3 separate regions of the Homo sapiens genome follow, and regions 1 and 2 are each linked to region 3. The links are contacts of gene promoters, found by promoter capture Hi-C in blood cells and fetal thymus (Javierre and others, 2016). All regions are on one chromosome and are shown on one strand. The core of a region is centred on a gene start or on the middle of the fragment in contact, and the rest is flanking DNA. Distances in the headings are between cores, read along the strand shown.

Region 1 (4,294 bases), core at 908-3,407, 2.3 Mb before region 3:
AACTGTGCATAAACACAAGGCTTAACTTACCTAAGATAACAAATTATTTTTGAACATCCATATCTTATGAACTAACACTTTTTTATAATCATATATTAAAATACAATAATGTTTGTTGATTCATTAAAGTAGGTCTGAACTCCACTTAATAACAAATTCTGCTTGATTCTACCTATTTGGAAATAATACAAGTGTATCCAAACATTACGTGACCCAGGTTTTTTATTAACTACAAGTCTTAGGAATCCATGTGATATTTTGCTCATGGATAGTTAGAGACAGGATTTTCATTTTTCTCCACTTGATAAAAGAGAAAGTATAAGTAAGGATATGGGAGTTGATTTTGGGAGTGGGTGACTGAATTAACTCTCAAACCTCAGCCCCGTAAGATGTTGGGGTAACTCATAAAGTTTGCTGTCTTGTCCTCAGGTGTCTCTGGGCACCTTGTTACCTCCCTCATTTGTTTCATATAGAACCTTGCTAATCAGGCTCTCAGGAGAGAGCAACATCATCATCACCTAGAAACTTGTTAAAAATGCAAATAATCAAGCTCTGGCCTAAGACTCTATAGTCTAGCAAGCTCACCAGGTAATAATTTTCAGGTTGAAGTGTGGTCTGGATTTCTCTCCCTGTTACCCCCTCTCTTATCCACTATGTTGTATACCATATACCAAAAGGCATGCTGATGTTATATGCAGCTGATTAAAAAACTAAAGACATCCAATATTTTAATAAGCTATCTCCTCCAATTTTAATAGAGAAAGGAAATGTCTATCCTAGGAGTAATCAATACTTAAAGGTAGAATTTGAGGTATTCTTACAGCACACACACTTTTGAAGAGGATTTCTTCCTCCTAAGTCGCCTAAAGTGGGGGTAGCCAGTCTACCAACACATAAACTATGTTTTACTCAGGTTTATTTCAAGATGCTCACAGAAAGCAAAAGAAAGCTGAACTTCACCTCTACTCAAATACAAGTGGAGATGCCAGTGAATGGAGCATGGGTCAAAGGGAGACAGAGCAACTGCAGAAATAAACTTAGAAATTCCATGCCCTGGACAGTGAACCATTGAAAGATCTGGATTAAGCAAAAATCACTTTCACAGGCAGACTCTCAATGCAGCATATGCTAATCCTGGATCTATGTTTTACAGACACAAAAGAAAGAATGAAGGGGTCTCTTTTATGTATGTGTTTTTCCCTTTAAAATAATTCCTTTAAGAAGTAGGTCTCTCAGAAGGAAGATTGGAAAAAACAAACAAACAAAAAAAACAAAACAAAAAAAACAAGGCCCTTTAAAATTTAACTATTATCAAACTCAGAAACAAATGAAAAGAGATGTATGTATTTGCTACTTCTAATATCTTACCACTTTCCTGACATTTATGACTCTTAAAATTCGCTTTCTAATAATATCATGCCTCTCAAGCTATCTGGTAAGCTTCACTTGTTTATATTCCCTGTATAGTTATCTGGCCTCTGTCTCTGCAGGTCAGCCCATTCTTCAGGCCCCCTTCAGGTCCGCAAAGATCCCCTGTTACTCAGCTCTGCTCTGACATGTTACACTGTTCATAGCTTATAATCCACAAAGCTCCACTCTTTTTTTGTTTTGTTTTGTTTTTGTTTTAAATAAGCTGCCTTAAATGGTAAGTATGATGGTTCTGTTTTTCCTATGAGACTAAATTCCCTGAGTGCAGAAAGTATCTTCCAATGTATTTCTGTTATGTCTCCCACCCTGCTGACACCTGGGGTCTAGATCAACGGTACGTCATGCACTTCATAAAACTGAGTTGAAGATTTCAGTGCTACCTAGCAATTGCTAAGGCAAGACATGGCTGCCTTTCAGAAATGTCTTCCTCAAGATAGTGGGGTCCAGGAGCAGTGTGCTTGTAGCTTACACAGACTTTTTTTCTAGGGGGAAATACGGGATGATGATGATGATCGTAATAGTTAACATTTATTGAGTTCTCTACTAAACACTGGCATGTCAGCCCTGTACTATGGGGTTTCCATGGTGTAAACATGACTAAAATAAACCTTCCAAAGCCCTAGAAGAAATTTCCACCCCTGCTCCCCACTTCAGCCTGGATGACCAATGAGGGCCACCCTGGACTCCCTCAAAAGAACTGGAGGCCGGGCACGGTGGCTCACGCCTGTAATCCAGCACTTTGGGAGGCCAAGGCGGGCGGATCATGAGGTCAGGAAATCGAGACCATCCTGGCTAACACGATGAAACCCCGTTTCTACTAAAAATACAAAAAATTAGCCGGGTGTGGTGGCAGGCGCCTGTAGTCCCAGCTACTCGGGAGGCTGAGGCAGGAGAATGGCGTGAACTCGGGAGGCGGAGCTTGCAGTGAGCCGAGATCGTGCCAATGCACTCCAGCCTGGGCGACTGAGCGAACTGGAAGGAAGCAACATTCCTGCTCACCCAAAGAGGCAAGTGAACACCGGCCTGATGGTATCTCCACCTCAGACATGGGGGTAGGCTGCATTTGATTGAATTTAACTGCTTGGCCTGGAATTAAGCAAGAGTTCTCTGTACCGGCCAGAAAAAACCACACAGCATTACAGCTTTTGTTTTCCTTAAGCCACAGGAATTACTAAAGAAAGTCCACAGACTACTGATTCTACGTGATTCTAGATGTGGTAGAAAAAAACCCAGTTATTTGTGTAGAGAACAGATGTTCGATAAAGAAATCTCTCTCCATTTTGGGGTTGGGAACATCTGTTATCTGCTACAAGCTGTATATCATACATCTTGGCATTATTTGCGTTGGCGTTAATCATTTTAATCTTTATTATGTAGCACATTGCCAAAACAAAACCAAATTCTAAAAATTCCAACTGTACAGCAGAGGAGGAAATGAAAGCTTAGTTTACTAGAGTCAACATCCATTTGAGAAAAAAATCTAAAGCATAAATCTTTCCTAAATATACTGGTTAGTATGCCTCTGTCTATGTATCTATGTATCTATCTATGTATCTATCTATCTATCTACACACTGGTTAGCTACACATCCAGCTTCATTACTGAAAAATGTTATATTGATGTAACTATTTCAGACAAATGACTTTAGAGTCAGGAAGAAATGCCAAAAATTAAGACTTCTATTAGAGAGTTCCTTGAGCTGGCTGAAGGTTGCCCCCTAGGCAGCATGATACTTAGAGCAACACCATTAACAAGAATTTCACCAGACTTGGAGTTCTGTGAATCTCATTAGAAATAGGCATAACATGACTCTTACAGAACTCTGTAGTTTACCAACAGCCTTCAAACACATCATGATGACATTCAGACTTCATGAGCAACCCTTGCAGAGTAAGCAAGGTCATTTTCATTTTCCAGATAAGTAAGTGAGGTCCAAAGAGATTAAATGACTGTAACTACAGTAAAGTAGTTAGAATGGGGTATCAGCTTTTTTTGTGGGATTTCAATGCACCAGGCACTGTGCAAAGGATTTCTGGTGAGGACTCCTATATTCCTTGCAACTATTTTTACTCACTAAAAACTACATTTAAGAGAGGTTCAATAATTTCCCCAAGGTCATGAAGCTGGTAAGTTCATGAAGCTGGTGAAAACTGTGCAATACAGTCTGTTTCCCCCACTGTGTTCTATGGTGTTTCGTAGTTAGAAAGCACAGAGCAAGCATTTGAAACTCAGGACTTCTAACTCCAAATGTGACTTCCTCCATGAAGCCCTCCCTGACCATCACTCCCACCAACCCTATATTGAGTGAAGCTCCCCTGCTGGAATCATTTATATCTTTAGCTATATCATAAGTATTTGTTAAGTTCATATAAGTTTGGGTCCCTAAGGCTGGGACCATATCTTAAGTTTATAACCCTCTTTATTAGATCTTACTTGAAAAGTAATAGGTACAATAAGTGGTTGGTGATTGAATAAATGGATAAAAAAGCAGTATTTTCTTATCATGTGTCTGGAAACTACAAGGTATGCTATATATTTCTTTAGACAATTAGATCAGTTGGACAAAAATGTCATTCCTGGCAAAAATGCTTTTTAAAAATCTATGGCAAGAAGAGAGAAATTATGAACATGCTTAAGGATCTTATTAGCAACGTAGGCCAAATAGTGATAAAACAGGGCTTTCTGAAAAATTATGTTCAAACTTTTAAAAGCCATATAAAAGAAAGCTTTAGTTACATGAATGAGCATGTTCTTCTCTGAACTTCACATCCAACCCAAATTCTTCCCTCTTCCCTGTGACAGTTATTTTTTCTATTCATTCCTAAGTAAAGGATGAGAACAGAGAAAACTTCCCTTTTGCAGCTTT
Region 2 (4,476 bases), core at 1,321-3,820, 2.5 Mb before region 3:
AGCATTTGAAGGAGAGCCTACAAACTATGTCTCTCAGCTTACCAATATAGCTAGCAGCCTCGGACACTCATTTCCAGGACATTTGCTCCTAGTTAAACTAAGATTTAATGTAAAACAAAATCTTCCATGAGTTTTAAAATGAATTTCTGACAAGGGACACAGAATCCAGACCAGCAGTTTACCATCAACCCTCACACAATTTAATAACCTACCACTTAAGCATCCCATTTCATAAACGACTCCATATCTCTCCCCCAGGTCTCATTTTTCAGGCTCCCTTTTAGCCTGAAAGTGATTTCAGTTTCATAGGAAACCACGTCCAAATCGTCCAGGGTGAGAATATCAAATGCAAGGAGTCCATTTTCACTAGCAGCATTCCGCTTAAACAAGGTGTGCTTCCTCAGAGCCAGTAACAGAACATGCAAAGCCAGAGTGTGTTCAGTGCAGCAGCGTTAGGCTCAACAAAAGGTGGGGAGGAGGGAGGACACCGCAGAGCTGGTCTGAGTTTCAACAAAATGGGAAATTAGAAAAGCCACAGCCTGAGCGTTGCTGCAGGGGTGTGCGGCAGAGATGGTTAAAAGCGAGGTTGTGAACAGCCCACATAACAGATAATTCACATCAGGGATGTGTCTCTTTGACCATTTTCGGTCAAGACAGGTGTAATAGAGTAAACAAAGAGCAGATGAGGCACAATGGATTTCTATTGGATTCTAAAGTTAAACATCCCAAGTAGGAATGTCCCAAAAGGCTTTAAAGATGGGACATAAATGGAAATATTTTGAGCCAGCAGCTACTGCTTAAATATGCTGGGCATTGGAGCACTGGGCCGTGATTCAGTCTAGTTTTTCTTTAAAGAAGGGTACGAAGCACCTCTGTCCCTCCGTAAAGACACCCAATGGTGAGAATCACACAGCTTCCCCTTTAGAGAGCTTCCAGGTCCCTCCCCTAGCATATGATTCTTTTCCACTCCACATATAATTGTAAAAATACCAACCCACATCTAGTTGTCACCAAGGGGAAGGTGTTATGTGAGCAGCTTCCAGAACACGGAGCTGCCGAACCTCAATGAATTCAGGGAGTTGTGCACAAGCTGTTGATTCAGGTTCCGCATGTACACCGAACTTAAGAAAAAATGCTAAACACCAGTTACAATTTGATCTTGAAAATGCTAAACACCAATTATCATTTTCCCCTAATTTTCTGCCTTGAAATGAAAGCAAGCACAGTACCTGGCTGAAAAGGATATTTACTTGGAAGACAGGGGACACCAGGTGGAGGTCAGGAAAAAGTGGCTGGAAAGAAAATCTCTTCTAGAATCGAGTTTAGGATTCATTTTCTTAAAACTATTAATAGTATATGAAGTGTTTCTAGGCTTCTTCTTATTTTCCTGAAGTTTCTACAGATGTGCTCCTATGGACCAGACTGTTGCTATGGAAAAATGAGAGGCTTATTTGGGATCAAATTAGGGAAAAGGGGCAGAATAGGGGAAATGAAGTGTTTGATGTCAGTTGAATGACTTGGAGCAAGGGTCACCCTGATGAAGGAGCAGCTGTAATAGAAATGACGTATGAATATGGTTTCTCTCCATATCACTGGGTAAGAGTCTTTCGCTAGAGAAATACAGCCACCTGATTAGGGAAGACCCAGAGGTGTCCAAGCTCTAGTTGAAGAACAAGGCTGCTGCTAGTCCTACCAGAGACTTCAATGGGCCTACTTCATTCATCTCTAAATAAGCGATGGCTCCACTGGGGACAAGGTTCAAGAAAGACAGGCAAAAGCTTATGACACAGCAGCAGCCTGGAGCCCAAAGTTTGAAGGAACCTATGACAAATGAAGGGTCAAAGCAGCCTTCCTGCAACACAGAAAGACATTTCAACTGGAGTTGGAACTACGTTCTATCACTCACCAACAGAGAAACATTTTCAAAGAGCAGCCTTACAGTAGGCGAGATAAAGAAAGATATTTTAGGTGCTTACTATTTACAAAGAAAACTATTTTTCTCCCCTAAGTCAGGTGAAAAGCTAAAAAATGGGTGACAGCACCCCCCATCCATCTGCAGGTAAAGAGGAACTGTCTGAGGTGTGTAATAAAGGTGGCCTTCTCTATTGAAATATTTGCCAACAGAATAAAGATACAGGGACTGAACTGTGAACCAGATTGCATGCACATTAGAGAGTCTGTAAATCAAGGAGCTGTGGAGTTGAAATCATAGTCCCCTGAGAAGTGTGAAGATATGTGATAAAGCCACAAAGGATTATGGGTTATTTGTGTTCCCTTCACTTTCTTTCCCTTTTAACACAGAGAAGGAACATGCTGTGCGTTGGGCTGTTTAAACACAGAACAGCTGAACTTTATTATGTTTCCTTTTAATTACAGCTTTCTTAACTCAGTTACAAGTAGGGCTTCTGTTTCTGGAAGCTGAAAAGTCTCACTGCATAATATTGTAAGCAGTGGTCTCCTTGGAGGCACAAGAAAGTGTGTGACAGATCCTCGATGCAAGGGTCCAGGCTTGGAACAAAATCTTGCTTGCTACCCAGCTTTTGTGAATTCATATCATGGTGGGAGACAAAGAAATGCAGTTAAGCAAGAATTGGCTAGATTTGGAAATGCAGAAATGGGGCGACTTTACTCTCAGGGGAAAAGCATGCTGAAACACTATTTCTGCTCACTTAATGAGAATTTATTAGTTATAGCATTAGTAAGCTGTAAGTGTCATGCCAAGATGATGTCTTCTCTGTAACTCAGTGTCTCTTTAGGTGTCTGCAAGCACTGGGTCTATTAATGGAGCCAAATTCTCACTCCCTTGGAAGAGTCATAGAGTATTTACCTAGGCAAGGCCCATACTTATATCTGAGACCTCATTTCAGATCCATGCTGATATTACATACCTAGTGCCTATTCCAGGCATTCACTGCTATGTTTCTTAAGCATTGAGGCGCATTGTTCCCTCTTTCCTCTGTATGTTAGCTTGGCCAAAAAAGATGCTTACGTAAGGAGGAAGGGAACAGAGAGATGAGAGTTTCCATGGCTGAAGATAAATAAGCAGGAAATCTTGAGAGCGAGACTAAAACATCTGAATATGATAAAGGAAACAATAGGTATTTAAAGAAGGGGAAAGATGTTGTCAGCAGATTGAGAAAAAATGACTCTGATGGATTAGAAAGATTTTCAAAAGGAGGATTTGGTGGAACGTGGACCATATCAATACTGAAGTAACCAGCACCTGGGAAAAGGATTTTACTTCTGCGCTGAAATAAAGATTTGGTGTTTCAAGATGTTGTTGGCTGGATGTGGGGATGGAAATAAAATCATGTTCTGTTTGGGCATCTGGCCCAGTAAGTTCAATTTGGAAAAGAAGCTTGGCTAGATGTTACCTGATTTACAGTGAAATCTCTGTGATGGAAGCATCCAGACCAGAGGGACAACCCTGTAGGTCCTCATTCAGAGACCTACAAGTGCACTGAAACTGAAGGCAGTCTCTAGGAAAAGTATAGCATTTAGAAATACACCAATGAAGAAACATGAAAACTGATGCCATGTTCTTGATGATGGATCCTGGGTCTATATTTAAGGTAGCTTAAAGGGACTCCTTCCAGGGAGAGCTCTCATCTGTAAACTGCCTCTCTCTTCTTGGACCAATGATGTTTCTATTTTGTCAAAGGTGCATAGTGTGTAGGTTGCCGTGGCCAGTAGCACAGTGGAAGGTCACACTGACTCTGAGTAGGTTCCAGGAGGCATCAGTAGGGTTAGCATAGTGGCTGCCTGGGGTATCTCCATCATTCACCATAGTTTATTCCACTCATCCTGGGTTGGTAGCAACAGAGGTTTTGGCAGGAGGAAGGAATGAGGACACATGGGCCTTAACCATAGGGGTTAAGAGTGGAGACAGGATAAGCACAAATGAAAACATACAGCAGCACTCATCATGCTGACATGAGAAACTTGCAAATCAGGTTACATGCAGTACTGCTAGGTATGCTTACCTACAGACAGTCACACACACACATGCAGGAATGATGAAGAGTTGCAAGCCTGACCTGGATAACTAGGGTCAGGCAGCTGGTGAGACTGACCATTACAGAAAGGCATGCCAGTAGGATTTCAAAAGCAGAGTACAAGTGAGGGCATCCCAGGGCACATGGGTGGTAGGTGGGATGTACTACGGGTCAGCAGGTTGAGTGCATGGATCATGCCAGGGAGAGATGTGACACTGTCAGGCTGTAGAGGTGCTTGGACACTGGAGTGTTCAAGGAGGAGGGAGAAAAATCAGTGGCTGATGAGAAAGGGCAACTCATCTAATCTCAGGACAGCACACTAGACATTCTGTTGCCTATTCGGTTTCTGCTGCATTCTCCTTTAGGCTTTTTTTTTTTTTTTTTGAGACAGAGTCTTGCTCTGTTGCCCAGGCTGCTGGAGTACAGTGATGCAATCTTGGCTCACTGCAACCTCCACCTCCCGGGTTCAAGCAATTCTCCT
Region 3 (4,914 bases), core at 951-3,450:
CAGCACCCAGCCCAAGATAATGGAGCTTAATTAAACTTAACTGAATTGTTTTAAGAAATATTTTTAAATGCAGAAAAAGAGAGTAGTATGATAAACATTCATTTTGCACCAAGAATAATTGACAATTGTTTTAAGTTAACATATTTATTTAAGTCTTTTGTTAATAACAAGATAGTCAAAGTTAAAGCATATTTTGATATGTATGGGGGTAAAGAAGGAAGGGAAGATATATTCAAAGTGTATATAAAATATACATGTAAATTCTAGAAAGTTTTTCAAACAGTGGGTGTTAGTCAGCACTGAAGTGTTGGAATGGAAATGTAAGTGGAGGTGGGATTGAAACAGGCTGTTGCTGTAACACTGTTTTTCTTAATCATAAGAATGATTTAATTTTATAGTTTCTCAAAATACCCAAGGGAGGAACATAAACTCCTATATATAACACGACTCTTTTTAAACATATATATCTATAAATGCTTGGGGTGTCAGGAAACACTGAAAATAAATTTACCAAAGAGTTATTTTAGCCATTCAGTACTTATTGCTGGGTGGTGGAATTATTGTTGACTTTGTTCTTAGTATACTTCTGCGTTTTCCAAATTATCTACCATAAGCAATTATATTCTGATTGTAAAATGCTACAGATGAAAAACTAGAAATAAACATTAAAATTATTTAAAAGGTTTAGTTCACTAACAATCCTGGTAATGTTGCATTGATACTAGGATACTCAAGACAACAGATTTGGTCACAACTAAAACTTTTTAGAGCTCTCCACTTACTCATTTCCAATTGTGTATGATCAATTTCTACGGTCTATTACATTCACAGCCGGTGCAATTGTAAATTGGTACCACCTTTCGGAAAGCAATTGGCTCTATATATCTTTAAAATCTTAAAGTTATTTAAAAAGCCTTATGCCCTTTACCCCAGAACTGTCGCTTTCCAAAAATTTTCCTAAAGGGGGAAATTCGAAATAAGAAAAACAATACACAGGTTGAGCACTGTAACTTATATATAATAAAGTTGGGGAAATTAGAGAAAGGTTAAATTACAGTGCATTTATTCAACAGAATACTCCGTCATTTGTAACAATGACTATGAAACAAAATAGAAAAATACTCACGTTAGGTTAAATGAAGAAAACATACCTATCTATGGTGGATCACAATATGAAAATTTAATACTTCTAGGTAGAAGAAGAGAAAGAGAATATGAAAAACTAAAAAGTCTTTAGGGGTAGGAGGACGTGAGCAGATCTCTAAATAACCTTGAGATCAATGGAAACAGTGTATAGATTTTTAGGTTCACTTATAAGCTGCTGATCTTATTTTAAGATCCTTCAGTATATGTTATCAAAAAGTGTTTGCTTTTCTTGCAAACGCCCATGTTTGGGAAATATGCAAGTTGAAGCCAATGCATTACTGTACTTTTTATAATGCACCTGAAGTTTTACTAGCTGTTCCAAGAGTGGTGTACTGAGTATTGATAAATCGTTTAAGTGGAGGCTCACATGAAATATTAACTATTACCCCAGGGCTTTAGAGCAACTGTGATCAATTCTGGCACAGCATCAGATCCATAATTTTCTTTGCTACTCTGATTTCTACGTTTTTTGTATTTTCAAAGTAATGTGACCGCAACTGTTAAGTTATTAAAATTGCTCCTGAGATGAGGGCACTCGAGACACAAACACACGGAGAGGTTCGTCCGCTATTCCTCTCATTTACTAAGCTCACACGTCTACCCTGAGGATTTGGAAACACTGTATGATTCTGCACTTACTGTGCACTTATCCCTTAGTGCTAAGGGGTAAACAGATACCCACCGGGCTGTCTAAGGCGCAGCCTCAAGGCAAGGAAGAAGGGTGCTGGGTCGCAGGGGATGAGAGGGCGGGGCGGCCACTTTGCTGCAGGAGATACCCAAAGCCAGTTAGCACTGAGGAAGTCAGAAGAGAATTGTCAGTCTCTCGGACACCTTCATTTTCTGCCCCGGAAATTTCTCCTCCGCTGTTGTCTGGGCTCCACTTCCGACCCCCAGTTGCTACCAGCTGTAGTCCGACCTATCGTGGCCCGGGCTAGTGCCAGCCTCCCGCCGCTACCTCCGCCTCGTCCCTTCTCCTCTGCGCCTGCGCGACCGGAAAATTCGCGAAGGTTCCTGAAACGCAACGGATCGTTTCCGGAAGCCGGTAGCCGCCTCAGTCGTCAGACCGGTGCTAGCGACACGGGAGTGGCAAACGCATCCTCTTGCCGTTCCCGGTGTTTGGGCCTTGCCTGTGACGGTGGGAAAAGAAAATGGCCTTGCTGTGCTACAACCGGGGCTGCGGTCAGCGCTTCGATCCTGAGACCAATTCCGACGGTAAGAGGAACGCGCCGCCAGCCCTCCCTCCCCTCCACCTCATCAGCAGGGGAGGCCCTTTGGGCCGGAGGGTGTCCGCGGATCTCCTGCAGCCGTCCTCGCGCGGCCCCAGGTCCATGCCCCTCCTGGGCCTCCCTTGGCTGCCCGCGCAGCCCGCCGGCCGCCCCTCTGTTGCGCCGCGTTCCCTTGGCGAGCGCCCGGCCCCGGCGCCTGACTGTCCTCTGCCACTGCGGAGAGAGACGCTCCCATGGATCCACGTGTTTCCCCCGTCGTCCCCGCACTCCTTTTAAGTCGCCTGGAATTTAGAACGAACACGTTTCTCCTCTGGCCCTCCAGTCTCTGGGGAAGCAAAAATTAACGAGGTACTGGTGAGCTTGCTTTGTAGTTCCCGAAGTAGTGATGGCTGTGATTGCCTGCGCGAGAGGGAGAGGTGGCCGGGATGAGCAGCGGGTTGTCCTAGCATGTAAGCTCTGCCTTGTAGAAGTTTGTGTTCAGTCGATCCGCTGTTACAAACCTCTTACAAGTGTTCTTGGTAAGGGACATTACTCTGTATCTTCACGCTGTTTTGATAGGTTCATCCTGGTGGTACGTTAGTTATCTTTTTATTACTAGCGGCATTTGTTGCTTGTTCTTCTTGTGGCCTCCACGTTTTACTACCATGCCTACTCCCGTATAAAATGAGTGAATGTCATCTACAGCACCTAGATGTCGAGTTAAGGATCCAAAGCGAAAATGACTATTAGGTGAAGGACGGGAAATGATCAGTGAATTGAAATTTTGATTGACAAAGAAGTGAGATGATTCCTTGCGTATCGTGAGAAGTGACAACACGTTTTCAGATTGAACTAGCATTTAGTTTATATTTTCTGCATGCCAGCCATTATTGCTTTATCTTATTTAATCTTCATAACCACCCTGGGACGCATGTAATGTTAATTAGACCCATTTGATAGAGAAGCTCAGTTCAATGAGGTTGTATTAATAACATCCTTCATTATTGTGGAGGAGATGAAAACTGATGCCTTTTGAACTCTTCACCTCTGAGATGTTTGAAATACTTATTTTTGGCACACAGGTAAATTGATAGCGTTATTTAAAATAAGACCATTGATACAGAGTTTTAAGGAAAAGGAAAATCCAACCTATGCAATACTCAAGTTACCGCCACTGACATTTTTATGATGCAAATATGATGCTACTCATGAGGAAAATTGTGAGATTTCAGTCGATGACAAAATCGAGAAACGATTTTAAAGCCCTTTGGTGTTGGCAGCCTATGTAAAACATTAATTGCACTTATGTCTGCAGATATTCTACTTTAATATAGAATACAGGGGAAAGACTGACGCTTTGCTTATGAGACAATAAAGTTCAGGGGCGATAGTCATTTGTTGGAAGTCTGTATCCATGTGTGAATTGGTGCAGTGCCTAGGAAACAGAAAGCGACCAGGAAAACCGTCTCAAAACTTGGGTGGTCAGCAGTACTAGTTACAGCAGAGAAATTCCAATAAGTATATTTACTTTAGCGAAATGACGGTTTTTTTAGAGACTTAGAATACATTTTTCAAGTAAACTGATTGAGTGAATGGAAGGAGAAGAAAATGGAGATACGGAGTAGGAGACAAGAACTAAATAGAAAGGTTGGTTAGGAGGTTTTTTAGGAAGAGGTTTGACCTTGTACAGTTGACAGAAATAAGTTAAAAGAGGTAAATACACAAGCAAGTTCCATTTTGCGTAAGCCAGATGTTGGATCTGTCATCTTTAAATATTTCTTAATCTACACTAAATGCTTTTTTTCTCGGTGCTGTGGCATAATTACCGTGCTCGTTGACTTATAGTCTCATGATTTTTTTTTCCCCCTAGAGACAGAAATTAGACTCCCTTTTAAGCTGATAGAACGTTTTAACTTGTAACTGAAGTTAAAGGGTGTTTAAGGGAGACACAGTTGGTAACTTACATATGTTAAACACTTATTCTAGAATAAACACAGCTTCACAAACGGTATTTTTTTTAATCGACGTATACGAGGAAAACTGAAGGAACTACTAGCGAGTAGCTCAGTGAGAAATTTAGCCAGGGTCAGACCCAATGTTAGAAGCCCTGGACACTTAACCACTGCTACTGTCTTGTAGCTTCTCACCCATAAAATATTAATTTTGCCAAAACTCTTAAAACTGATAAAGAAAGGATGGATATTAAAGAAAGAATGAAGAATGTCCATTTGCTTGTTACTTCTTGTTTTTGAAAGCAGTGGCTTTCTAATTGTGTTCATGTTAGTTGTATGGTTCAGATCTGACTCATTCCTGCTGCCATGCTGCCAAAATTGACTTATTGTGACATTTTATGCCTCTGACTCTGTTATACATTGCGTTTATGTTTCTGACTACTTTAAATTTGGTGTTTGAAAATACTGGATCTATTCTCTACTTCCATTCCCCTCTCAACTTCATGTCCTTCTGCATACCCATTTCTACTTCCAACCTCCTTTTTCAGCCCTTAATTCCACAACTACCCTTAATTAATAACATCTTTCTGATCCCACGGATTTACTTACTG

Evidence for each region. Contacts are between HindIII fragments. The CHiCAGO score rates a contact against its expected background, and 5 or more counts as called.
Region 1: a contact is called between a fragment that was not itself captured here and the fragment with the promoter of CHORDC1 in region 3, in 1 of 17 cell types (naive B cells). The highest score is 7.1, in naive B cells.
Region 2: a contact is called between a fragment that was not itself captured here and the fragment with the promoter of CHORDC1 in region 3, in 2 of 17 cell types (M2 macrophages and fetal thymus). The highest score is 8.2, in M2 macrophages.

What each region holds. Positions count from the first base shown.
Region 1 is chr11:92,526,521-92,530,814 of GRCh38, reverse strand. All of the region lies in intron 3 of FAT3 (FAT atypical cadherin 3), which reads right to left. Among named protein-coding and RNA genes, the nearest start is that of FAT3, 300 kb to the right of the region's middle. The HindIII fragment of the contact is 1,429 bases long and covers 1,443-2,871 here.
Region 2 is chr11:92,767,155-92,771,630 of GRCh38, reverse strand. All of the region lies in intron 6 of FAT3 (FAT atypical cadherin 3), which reads right to left. Among named protein-coding and RNA genes, the nearest start is that of LINC02746, 150 kb to the left of the region's middle. The HindIII fragment of the contact is 1,580 bases long and covers 1,781-3,360 here.
Region 3 is chr11:90,220,335-90,225,248 of GRCh38, reverse strand. CHORDC1 (cysteine and histidine rich domain containing 1) reads left to right here and starts at 2,200. Exons shown (of 11, transcript NM_012124.3): 1 at 2,200-2,358. The coding sequence starts at 2,295. LOC124902812 (a long non-coding RNA gene) reads right to left here and starts at 2,090. Exons shown (of 2, transcript XR_007062978.1): 1 at 1,829-2,090. The HindIII fragment of the contact is 11,072 bases long and covers 1-4,914 here.